Linked DNA regions of Homo sapiens: all the other regions are linked to region 3. Evidence: promoter capture Hi-C in human tissues and cell types (Jung and others, 2019). All regions are on one chromosome and are shown on one strand. Each heading gives the region's core, a stretch centred on a gene start or on the middle of the fragment in contact. The rest is flanking DNA. Distances are from core to core; before and after follow the strand shown.

The links. Contacts are between HindIII fragments. The study calls those that stand out against the background at their distance.
Region 1: a contact is called between a fragment that was not itself captured here and the fragment with the promoter of COMMD7 in region 3, in 1 of the 25 tissues and cell types used here (aorta).
Region 2: a contact is called between a fragment that was not itself captured here and the fragment with the promoter of COMMD7 in region 3, in 1 of the 25 tissues and cell types used here (mesenchymal stem cells).

Annotation. Positions count from the first base shown.
Region 1 is chr20:31,771,934-31,776,106 of GRCh38, forward strand. TPX2 (TPX2 microtubule nucleation factor) reads left to right here. Exons shown (of 18, transcript NM_012112.5): 8 at 3,934-4,055. Among named protein-coding and RNA genes, the nearest start is that of TPX2, 35 kb to the left of the region's middle. The HindIII fragment of the contact is 9,779 bases long and covers 1-4,173 here.
Region 2 is chr20:32,185,197-32,189,057 of GRCh38, forward strand. No RefSeq gene overlaps it. Among named protein-coding and RNA genes, the nearest start is that of PLAGL2, 21 kb to the right of the region's middle. RefSeq lists an enhancer at 3,058-3,861. The HindIII fragment of the contact is 3,734 bases long and covers 351-3,861 here.
Region 3 is chr20:32,742,198-32,746,316 of GRCh38, forward strand. COMMD7 (COMM domain containing 7) reads right to left here and starts at 1,270. Exons shown (of 9, transcript NM_053041.3): 1 at 1,111-1,270. The coding sequence starts at 1,194. RefSeq lists silencers at 1-61, 1,046-1,115, 1,296-1,525 and enhancers at 106-933, 1,821-2,765. The HindIII fragment of the contact is 4,810 bases long and covers 354-4,119 here.

The DNA of each region.
Region 1 (4,173 bases), core at 143-2,642, 970 kb before region 3:
CTTGACCTCCTGGGCTTACGTGATCCTCCCACCTCAGCCTCCCAAGTAGCTGGGACTATAGGCATGCACTATCATGCCTGGCTAACTTTTTTTTTTTTTTTTTTTGAGACAGAGGCTCACTCTGTTTCCCAGGCTGGAGTGCAGTGGCATGATCTTGGCTTACTGCAACCTCTGCCTCCCGAGTTCAAACAATTCTCCTGCCTCAGCCTCCCGAGTAGCCCGGATTACAGGTGTGCACCACCACACCCGGCTAATTTTTGTATTTTTAGTAGAGATGGGGTTTCACCATGTTGGCCAGGCTGGTCTCGAATTCCTGACTTTAAGTTATCTGCCCACCTTGGCCTCCCACAGTGCTGGGATTACAGGTGTGAGCCACTGTGCCCAGCCTACCTGGCTAACTTTTACATGTTTTTGTAGAGATGGGATTTCACTATGTTGCCCAGGCTCTCAAACTCCTGGCCTCAAGCAGTCCTCTTGCCTTGGTCTCCCAAAGTGCTGGGATTACAGATTTGAGCCACAGTGCTGGCTGGTGCTCAGATCTTGAACAGTCAGAAAAATATACTGTTGAAGCAAATTTAAAAGAAATATAAAAGGAAAAAGTTAGCAACAGTTCTTACCACGTAGATTGAACATTTTTTATTTTTCCAACCTCCCTGCTGGATTTTACCCAAGCCAGCATACATATTTTCACAATCAGTTAATACAAAACCTTGGGTTCTGCTTTATTGACTTGCCATGAGATTATTTCAGATTTTGTTTCTGTGCTGCTACAAAATTTTCACATTTATCCTTTTTTGATAGATTGTTAATATTCTATCAAAATATATTTAACTATTTTCTGTTGAAAATGTAGTTTCCAGCTTTTCATGATTATAAGTACTCAGTCAACAACTTTATAGGCAGAACCATTTCTTTGAGTGATCTTCTCAGAATAAGGAAGGAGAAATTCCCCACAGGGTATGACCAGTTTTGTCAGTGTTGATATTTATTGCCAATTTTACTTCTGAAATGGAAGTACCAATTTATAGTGCCATCGGCTTTTTTTTTTTTTTTTTTTTTTTGAGATGGAGTCTCACCCTGTCACCCAGGTTGGAGTACAGTGGCGCAATCTTGGCTCACTGCAACCTCCGCCTCCTGGGTTCAAGTGATTCTCCTACCTCAGCCTCCTGAGTAGCTGGGATTATAGGCATGCATCACCACACCCGGCTAATTTTTTTTTTTTTTTTTTTTTTTTGTGAGACGGAGTCTCGCTCTGTTGCCCAGGCTGGAATGCAGTGGCACGATTTCGGCTCACTGCAACCTCTGCCTCCCACGTTCAAGCAATTCTTCTGCCTCAGTCTCCCATGTGGCTGGGATTACAGGCACCTGCCACCACACCTGGCTCATTTTTTATTTTTAGTAGAGATGGAGTTTCACCATGTTGGCCAGGCTGGTCTTGAATTCCTGACCTCAAGGGATCTGTCTGCCTCAGCCTCCCAAAGTGCTGGGATTACAGGTGTGAGCCACCATGCCTGGCCCCGGCTAATTTTTGTATTTTTAGTAGAGATGGGGTTTCATGATGTTAGCCAGGCTGGTCTCGAACTCCTGACCTCAAGTGATCTGCCCGCCTCAGCCTCTCAAAGTGCTGGGTATAGGTGTGAGCCACCATGCCTGGCCTGAAGTGCCATTGGCTTTGAATGAATATTTTTATTTTCTTATTATCTCATCTGCATTGTTTATTAACTTATAAAATTGTTTCTTTTTTTAAATTCATATAGATGGCATGAAATTATTATTTTAAAAATTTAATTGTAAATTGATAATTTATAGTTGTATATATTTATACAGTACAAAGTGATGTTATGATTCATGACTACAATTTGGAATAATTAAATCTAGCTAATTAACATATCTGTCACCTCAAATACTTACCACTTTTTGTAGTGAGAACATTTGGATTTTTTTTTTTTTTTATCGAGATGGAGTTTCTCTCTTGTTGTTCAGGCTGGAGTGCAGTGGTGAGATCTCAGCTTACTGCAACCTCCGCTTCCCGTGTTCAAGTGATTCTCCTCCCTCAGCCTCCCGAGTAGCTGGGATTACTGGCACTTGCCACTATACCCAGCTAATTTTTGTATGTTTAGTAGAGATGGGGTTTTACCACGTTGGCCAGGCTGGTCTCAAACTCCTGACAGGTGATCCACCTGCCTCAGCCTCCCAAAGTGCTGGGATTACAGGCATGAGCCACCGCGCCTGGCTGGAATTTATTCTCTTAGTGTATTACGATTACTAATGATATCCTCCACCCTGTGCAGTAGAGCAAAAGAAAAATCTTTTTCCTCTTGTCTGAGATTTGTTGTACTCTTTAATCGTCATCTCCCCATTTCCCCCAACCCCCAGCATCAAATTATTTTAATTTTTATGTATTTGCTGACAAGATTGTATTACTGCTACTATTGTAAACATTTTTCCATATTTCCTCTTGGGTGAATTATCTGTTTCCTTTTTATTTTTTTTCTTATTGGTAACCTTATTTGCCTATAAGTGTCCTTGGTGATATTTTCCTTACTAAGAATGGATACTCTGTGTTGAACATTACCATGTGTCAAGCACTTCAGAGACATCATCTGATTGAACAGTCATAAATAGGATGTGAACATGAGTATTTACACTCCCATTTCACAGTGGGGAAAACTGAGGCTCAGGGAAGTTAAATAGTTTTCTCAAGATCATTATAGGCAGCAAATGAAATGACAGGGTTGGGATTTAGTCGGCTTTACTTCTGAGTTTCTTCCTTCTGTTACATGTGTTTTATGTGTATTAACCCTAGGTTGTAGATACTTTCCTCATTCTACTGGTCTTTTTTTGTTTTTGTTTTTGAGACAGGGCCTTGCTGTGTTGCCTAGGCTGGTCTTGAACTCTTGGGCTCAAGCAATATTTTTGCCTCAGCCTTCCAAGTAGCTGGGATTACAAGGGCATGCCATTGCACTAGGCTTCTACTGGTCTTTTAGTTTTTCTTGTGGCTTACAACCTAATCTTTTTTGTTGTTGTTGCTGTTGTTGTTTTTGGAGATGGAGTCTCACTCTGTTGCCCAGGCTGGAGTACAGTGGCGTGATCTTAGCTCACTGCAACCTCCACCTCCCGGGTTCTAGCGATTCTCCTGCCTCAGCCTCCCGAGTAGCTAGGATTACAGGTGCCTGCCACTACATCTGGCTAATTTTTGTATTTTTAGTAAGATGGGGTTTCACCATGTTGGCCAGGTTGGTCTCGAACTCCTGACCTCAGGTCATCCACCCGCCTCGGCCTCCCAAAGTGCTGGGTTACAGGCATGAGCCACTGCACCCAGTCCAATCTCATCGTTTATGATCATATTTATGGATATTTTGTAATATATTTTAATCTATTTTAGTTATTTTCTTCTGAAATTTTTTCAGTATTTTGGTATAAAGTGTGCATTTTCTTGTCTTTATTTATTTATTTTTTTTGAGATGGAGTCTCGCTCTGTGGCCAGGCTGGAGTGCAGTGGCGTGATCTTGGCTCCCTGCAACCTCCCCCTCCCAGGTTCAAGCAATTCTCTTGCCTCAGCCTCCCCAGTAGCTAGAATTACAGGTGTGTGCCATCACACCTGCCTAATTTTTGTATTTGTAGTAGAGACAGGATTTTACCATGTTGGCCAGGATGGTCTTGAACTCCTGACCTCAGGTGATCTGCCCACCTTGGCCTCCCAAAGTGCTGGGATTATAGACATGAGCCACCATGCCTGGCCAAAGTGTGCATTTTTATTTATTTTCATGGTGTTATCTAATTAAGTTAGCATCTATTTATTAGATGATATTTTTTGGTTTTGATGATTATCTTATCACAGGTTAAAAATATTATATAATGCCTGTAGATTCTTTTGAGTCACTGGGTGCCTTTCTCCTCTCCTCTCTTCTCATTTACTGATTTTCTCTTTAGGCAGAAGTTTCTAAAAAGTACTGAGGAGCAAGAGCTGGAGAAGAGTATGAAAATGCAGCAAGAGGTGGTGGAGATGCGGAAAAAGAATGAAGAATTCAAGAAACTTGCTCTGGCTGGAATAGGTGAGCTTGGCTGTGGTTGAGTCTGATTCATGAGGGGTGGTTCTTAACACTCTTGGTAGGTGTTTTTTTTTTTTTTTTTTTTTTTTTTTTTTTTTTTTTTTTTGAGACGGAGTCTCGC
Region 2 (3,861 bases), core at 968-3,467, 560 kb before region 3:
CTGGATGGCAAATTAAACAGTCACCCTTCATCACCCACACCGTTCTCCACCCAACTCAAATCCTTTGGGCAGGAACTATGCCTTTGTCAGAGCCCAGCACAGTACTCTGTATGCTGGAATAAAGTCAGTCACTCATACCAGTAATCTTTGAGACACTGGACACTAAACTATGGGGAAGCAAAGCAGCAGAAACATGTGTCCCTGTTCTCCTGCCACATGTGAAAGGAGGTGGAAGAAGGTAAGAAAAGATCATTTCAGAGAGGCCACGTGCAGTGGCTCACGCCTGTAATACCAGCACTTTGGGAGGTGGAGGCAGGTGGATCACTTGAGGTCAGGAGTTTGAGACCAGCCTGGCCAACGTGGTGAAACCCTGTTTCTACTAAAAATACAAAAATTAGCTGGGTGTGGTGGCGGGCACCTGCAGTCCCAGCTACTAGGGAGGCTAAGGCAGGAGAATCGCTTGAACCCGGGAGGCGGAGGCTGCAGTGAGCCAAGATAGCACCACTGCACTCCAGCCTGGGTGACAGAGTGAGACCCTGTCTCAAAAACGAAAAAAAAAAATCATTTCAGAGAGTTACAAGTGACATGGAAAAAATCATGAAGGGAGGGGTAGAGGCTAATTTTGGACAGGCTGGGCAGGGAAGGCCTCTGAAGTGGCGTTTGAGGACTGAATGAATTGAGGGAGCCATGAGATGAGAATATCTGCAGGAGGAAAATCCTAGCTAGGAGAGGGAAAAAAGCAAGTGCTAAAATCCTGAGGCTGGAACATGCTTAGTGTGTTTAAAGAACAGGAGAGAGGCCAGTGTTGGGGGCACAGAGAGAGCAAAGCAGAAGTGGATGGGAGATGTTGGGAGGGACCAGCAAATGCAGGGCTTTGTCGCCTGCAATAAGGAATTTTATATATATATATATATAAATTTTTTTTTTGAGACGGAGTCTTACTCTGTCACCCAGGCTGGAGCGCAATGGCGAATGGCATGGTCTCAGCTTACTGCAACCTCCGCCTCCCAGGTTCAAGCGATTCTCCTGCCTCAGCCTCCTGAGTAGCTGGGACTACAGGCACCCGCCACCATATCCAGCACATTTTTGTATTTTTAGTAGGGATGGGGTTTCACTACTGGTGAAATCCTACTGGCTGGTCTCGAAATCCTGACCTCGTGATCCACCCGCCTCAGCCTCCCAAAGTGCTGGGATTACAGGCGTGAGCCACCATGCCCGGCCTATAGATACATATTTTTAACCAGTGTAGGGTTTTGGATGGGGAAGTGACATGATCTAAGTTATTTTTTCCCCAGACAGGCAATTTTTTATTTTTTATCATGCGTATAGAAAACAAAAGTGTCACAGATCCCCTTGTGACTGGACAAAGCCACCTCAGGAATATTTCTCTGCTTAAAAGAAGCATTGTCAGTTACAGTGATGTCAATTACAACCTGGCACAAAATCATCAAGACCATCAGGGTCACAGAATTCTTTCTGGAGGTTATCCTTGCAGAACACAGGCACAGCTTCCAGTCTGAAGTCCAACAAAACCAGAACTCTGCTTCTAAGTACAAGATTATGGTAAAGGCCCCAACAACCTGATAACAATTGTGAATAGTCACATAAGTTTCCAAGTGGCATAAAAAATGTACACTGACAATCTTGCAAAAGTTCTCAACTAAAAGCAACAAGCAAGCCTTTACAGCATAATGCCCCAGTGGGCTGAAACACAGGAGGGGATGCATAGGGTCTTACTTAAAAGCAGCAGAAGAAAAGCTTACATTAACTTTCTACATACACAAGGTAGGACCAAGAGAGAAAACCTCTAAAGTTGCAGTGTTCTGTTATTCTTCTAGTTTACAAAACATATTGGCGAATCAAAAATGTTAGCAAGGGCTGGGCGCGGTGGCTCACACTTGTAATCCCAGCACTTTGGGAGGCCAAGGTGGGAGGATCCCTTGAGCCCAGGAGTTAAGACCATCCTGGGCAACATAGCGAGACCCCCGTCTCTACAAAAATGTTTTTTAAAAAGCTGGGCATGGTGGCATACACCTGTAGTCCCAGCTACTTGGGAGGCTGAGATGGGAGAATTACTTGAGCCCAGGAGTTTGAGGCTATGATGCATCACTGCACTCCAGCCTGGGCAACAGAGTGAGACCCTGTCTTGAAGAAAAAAAAAAAATCAGATGGGCACAGTGGCTCACACCTATAATTTTAGCACTTTGGGAGGCCAAGGTGGGCAGATCGCTTGAGCCCAGGAGTTCAAGACCAGCCTGGGCAACATAGTGAGACCCTGTCTCTATGTATTAACCAAAATCAAGGGCTCTCCTCCTTCTACCATCTCTCAGCCATCCTGCCTTTTCAGCTGGCTCTGGTTCCTTTTGTACTTCCCTGCCAAAAGCACCCTCCACATTATTTTGTGATAAGGCCTCCCCAGGTCCTAGGGAACAGAAGATAAGGCCTTCCATGGGAAGGGGCCTGGGTATGGCCACTACCACCCCTTCCCCTAAAATGAAATGGAGACAGACAGCTCTGCAAGCAGGGGGAGGAGGGGGTGGGCAGCTCAGCTCTTATACCTAGAGGGGTTCGGACTTGGTGGAAGGGTAAGAAAGAGTTGGGGTTAGTCTAAAAGAACACAGCATAAAATGGAATATTAACTATCCCCGCTCTGGGGACTTCCTGGTCTCTCTGTTCAGCAGCCTTGGACTGTCCCCTTTGGAAGATTCTAGGCCTTGCTAAAGAGGGTAAGGTATAGGGGAAGAGAGAATGCTGGCAGTCTACAGGGCAAACCCTCCCTCTCTGGAGACGAAGAGAGGCAAACTGAACACGAAAGTCTTTCTTGTTGAGTTTAAGAAAAAATCTTTTTCTTCAGTTGTTATTTTTTGTTTCTAAGCCATCATTTAAAGAAAAAAATGGTGTGAGATCTGGGTATGGATAGACAGGCCCCAGGACCAGGAAGACCCCCTCCCCAGCACCCACAGCTTGGCAGCCTAACAGGTAGAGGCAGGGGGGCTGGCAGAGCACCTGGATTCTGTGGGGTCCAGTAACTGGGGCTCAGGAGGGGATCCCATCCTTGCCCCTGCCTCACTCACATGCCCAGATAGGCCAGTTTGGCAGAGTTCCTGGGGATTAGGGGCTCTCCTGTGCATTGGCAGGTGGCCCACCTGGGTCCACAAGCGGCTATGGAGGTTCCTGTAGACCTGGGGGCGGGCAACAGGGCTGATGGTGGTCTGGGCAAAACTCATGGGAAAGGAGATGGCTAGGCATTGGTGGGGCACGGCACAGACCCTCATAAGCTAGCAGCAGGCTGTGATGTCAGGCCACCGTGGGGCAGGAGGAGCAGTATGATCACAAAGAATGTGCTGTCCACTGCTTCATGCCCTTGACCTCACCCATGCCCAGCAGCCAGCTGTGTGCTCATCCTGCCAGATACCCAAGAGTCCACTTGGTGGTAGCCTGTGGTCTTGAGGCCATGGAATGTCCAAGCCTGGGTGGCACCCGGCACCAAATGAAGCCACTTCATCTTGGGTGATGAGACTCAGTTTGCCACAGCCAGGGTGTAGAGAGCTACTGTGAGCACGACCAGCAAGCATGCGAAGGCCGGCAGGCTGGAGTCTTGAAGCATAGGCCTCAAAGAGGCACTGTCCTCCAAGTAGTGACTTGTGGGTACCCTTGTCAAAAATGGCTGGGATGGCCACGGTCACAGGTCCATGCCGTAAAGATTATGGCAGTGCACATCCACAGCACTGGGTGCTTAGTGTAGACGCAGCGGCATGTGACAGCCACGTGATGTTAACACAGAACAGCAAGAGGCCATATGGAAACAGTAGAGACTGGCCACGAGGGCCACAATTTGAGAGCTGAGTCCACCGAACCACG
Region 3 (4,119 bases), core at 20-2,519:
ATTAATTTCCATTTCTATTTAATTTTTAAATGTGGCTACTACAAAATGCAAAGTTAGAAATGTGGCTTGCAAATTTTTCTATTGCATAGCTCAAGCTTAGAACCTTCCTGTCGTTACAAGTTCTAAGTTTGGTTTTTATCTCGCAAGCAGCACTACTGTGTGGGAAGTTGTGGGGGGTATGGAGATGAAAGAAGAGGGGCGCTACCTCCTGGGAAGTGACAACCTAGCGGGGGAAATAGATGTATCTTCCCAGTGGGGGTGAGAAGTGTCATTCTCACCTATTTCAGCAGCCTTGGTGGTATGAAAAGGCATCCCAACCAGCACAGAAGCAGGATGCCTCCAAGACTGCCTTGGTTGGCACCTGCAGCCTGAAGGGGGAGAAAAAGGCTTTGCTAGCTCCCCTACCATCGAGGATGAAGACCCCCACTGTACACAGTGTATAAGGTTTCTTTCCATGTGAATCCCAGTGACTCTCCTTAACTGGGTGGAGGTGGAAGGTGTCATCAGCCTTGTCCCAGATCGAGCCCCTCAGGCCCACAGAGCCCCAGTGGGGCCTGGCTATTACTGACACTCATGTCACACTGAGATGTAAGACGGCAGCCCAGGCCAAGCTTCCCCGGGCCCCCTCAGATTCTCGGGCCCTCCCACTCCCCTCAGGCTTCCTCGGCCTCCCTGCCAAACATCTATCTCCCTTTGGACCCCACTGCTCCCCAAAACTCCCCACGCCCTTAGTCTGTTCCTTCAGTTCCCCAAACTCCTTCAGCCTCATCTAGACTCCCCTCCGTCCCTCTTCTAGGACCCCAAAAGCTCTCCTCGGCCCCAGGACCCCGCAGAGGTCCCGTAGTCCCATCTCTGAGACCCCACAAAGCCTTTCGGACCCCTCAGGTGGCCCTTAGGCCTCCGGAGATCCCTTGGCTCCCCACACTCTCCTCAGACCCCAGCTCACCTTAGCCTCGCCCCGAACCCACCTCACACACCCCAAACGCCCACAAGACGCCGCTCTGTCTAGTCTCTCCCAACTCCCGCGCACCCCCGGACGTCCCCCCCACCCCAGGCCCGGATCCTGGAATCACCTGGGCCCCGCGCCCCACGCCCCGCCGCCGGGCCCACCTGCGCGCCCAGCTGGTTCAGCTGCTGCATGTCGCCGCCCACGGCCTCCGGCACCGGGTCCTCAGTGCAGTGCAGGCGGCCCATGGCGCGCGCCCCAGCCCCGCAGGTTCCACCGCCGCCGCCGCCCTGCTCAGCTTCCTCCTCCGCTGCCGCTGCCACCGCTGCCGGCCTCTCCGCGCATCCACAACCGCACTTTCGCCACGGCCGTCGCAGCGCACTCCTCCCCCGGCCGCCCTGGGCTGTCCGGAGCCGGGGAGCCCTCGCAGGGCCGCGGACACGCGCGGCCGCCGGGCTCCGGGGAGGGGCAGGGGCGGCGCCGGCACCGGCAGACGCGAGGTTTCCTGCCAGCTCTCCCGCTGAGTGACCTTTGGGTACGGCGCTTGGCCTCTCTGAACCTCAGTTTCACCATCTGAGAAAATGATGGCTGGGGTAGCTCCTTAAATGAGTTAAGCCTCCAGAAATGTTTAACGCAGAGACCGGCACACAAGAGGTCTTCAATCAATGGCTAGCTGCTATTATCATCATCACTGTTACTATGCACTCCAGAGATATTTATGGCAGCCTACTCGATGCCAGACACTGGGGACAGGGAAGGGAACAAAGCAGGCCAGAGTGTCTCTCGGAGAGCTGACATCAGAGTAGAGACTAGGTCTCAACCTTGGAAGGGCATCAGCATCACCCCAGCATCACCTGGTATTGCCGGGCCCCGCCCCCAGAGGATCTGATTCGAAAGGCCAGGGTGGAGCCTGAGAATTTGCATTTCCAATAAGCACCCAGGGACTACACTTTGAGACCTTCTGGAGTGGAAGAAACTGACTTACCAAAGTTTCCTCAAAATAGTGCGAGGGCTTTGACTGTGCGGGGCAGGGAGGGTGGTGGTGAGGTGGGTGAGGGGAGGTTACTGAGACCGTGATCATCACTGCAGCCCCTCAAACACTCTAACCCCCATGCCCTCTCTTCCCAGGGGCTCCTCACAGTTCCCAGGTGAATATTACCCTAATCCCCACTGGAAACATGAGAAAATAGAGACATGCTACCCAGAATCTAGGAACTGAACGCCAAGCCTAAGGGCTTCACCTAGCCCCTAAGTCCAGCCTTGAGGGTAAAGAGGTAATGCCGAGAAACCTGGAGCAGGGAAATGTGGGGGGTTTGGCTGGCCTTCCTCACCAGCCCTCCTCCTCTCCTCTACCCTTTCCTGAAAATCCCTTCTGTAAAAGTATAAACAAAATGTCTTCTACCCGGCCCGGCGCGGTGGCTCACTCCTGTAATCCCAGCACTTTGGGAGGCTGAGGCGGGCGGATCACTTGAGGTCAGGAGTTTGAGACCAGCCTCAACATGGAGAAACTCCGTCTCTACTAAAAATACAAAATTAGCCGGGCGTAGTGGTGCATGTCTGTAATCTCAGCTACTCGGGAGGCTGAGGCAGGAGAATTCCCTGAACCCGGGAGGCATAGGTTGCGGTAAGCCGAGATCGCGCCATTGCACTCCAGCCTGGGCAACAAGAGCGAAACTCCGTCTCAAAGAAAAAACAAAAAAGTCTTCTACCCAAAGGCCAAGCCCATCCCCTTCAGTCATTATATCATTCATACATTCATTCAACAAATATTGAGTGGCACATGCCTGTGGTCCCAGCTACTCGGAGGCTGAGGCAAGAGGATCACTTGAGATCTTGAGATCGAGACTGCAGTGAACCCAGATGGCGCCACTGCACTCCAGCCTGGGCGACAGAGCAAGACCACATCTCCATAAAAAAAAAAGAAGGTCTGCTGTGAGGCAGATACCATGACATGATAGGGGGTGGGGATTCCACAGTGACACAACCAGATGAACCAGATGCAGTGCCTGGCCTCTGAGAAGTCAGAATTGACCCAGGGGGCAGACGCAAGTGTGTGTGAAAGTATTAAGGGATGCCAAAAAGTAGGAGGTGCTTTGAGAATGTGTACAGGACACAGTCCGAGTTTGGAGTACCTGGAAGAGAATAAACCTTCGGGTGACAAACAGACAGGAACTCAGAGGCCCTACTCACCGTGCAAGAATTTTTTTTTTTTTTTTTTTTGAGACAGATTCTGGCTCTGTCACCCAGGCTGGAGTGCAGTGGCACAATCTCGGCTCACTGCAATTTCTGCTTCCCGGGTTCTAGTGATTCTCCAGCCTCAGCCTCCCGAATAGCTGGGAATGCAGGTGGCCACCACCAAACCCAGCTAACTTTTGTCTTTTTTTTTTTTTTTTGGAAACGGAGTTTTGCTCTTTTTGTCCAGGCTGGAGTGCAATGGCGAGATCTCGGCTCACTGCAACCTCCGCCTCCCGGGTTCAAGTGATTCTCCTGTCTCAGCCTCCCAAGTAGCTGGGATTACAGGCATGTGCCACCACCCCGGCTAATTTTGTACTTTTAGTAGAGACGGGTTTCTCCATGTTGGTCAGGCTGGTCTTGAACTCCCCACCTCAGGTGATCCGCCTGCCTCGGCCTCCCAAAGTGCTGGGTTTACAGGCGCGAGCCACCGCACCTGGCCCAACTTTTGTCTTCTTACTAGAGATGGGTTTTCACCGCATTGGCCAGGCTGGTCTCATACTCCTGACCTCAAGTGATCCACCTGCGTCAGCCTCCCAAAGTGCTGGCATTACAGGCGTGAGCCACTGCACCTGGCCCGGAATTTTTATTTTTAAATATTTTTAACCTTGTTAAAAAAGAAGATCTGGGCTGGGCGCAGTGACGCATGCCTGTAATCCTAGCACTCTGGGAGGCTGAGGCCGGTGGATCACCTGAGGTCCGGAGTTCAAGACCAGCCTAGCCAACATAGTGAAACCCTGGTTCTACTAAAAATACAAAAATTAGCCGGGCATGGTGGTTCATGCCTGTAATCCCGGCTACTCTAGAGGCTGAGGCAGGAAAATCGCTTGAACCCAGTAGGCAGAGATTGCAGTGAGCCGAAATCCCACCACTGCACTCCAGCCTGAGCGACAGAGCAAGACTCTGTTCAAAAATAAATAAATAAATAGTTGGGGGAAAAA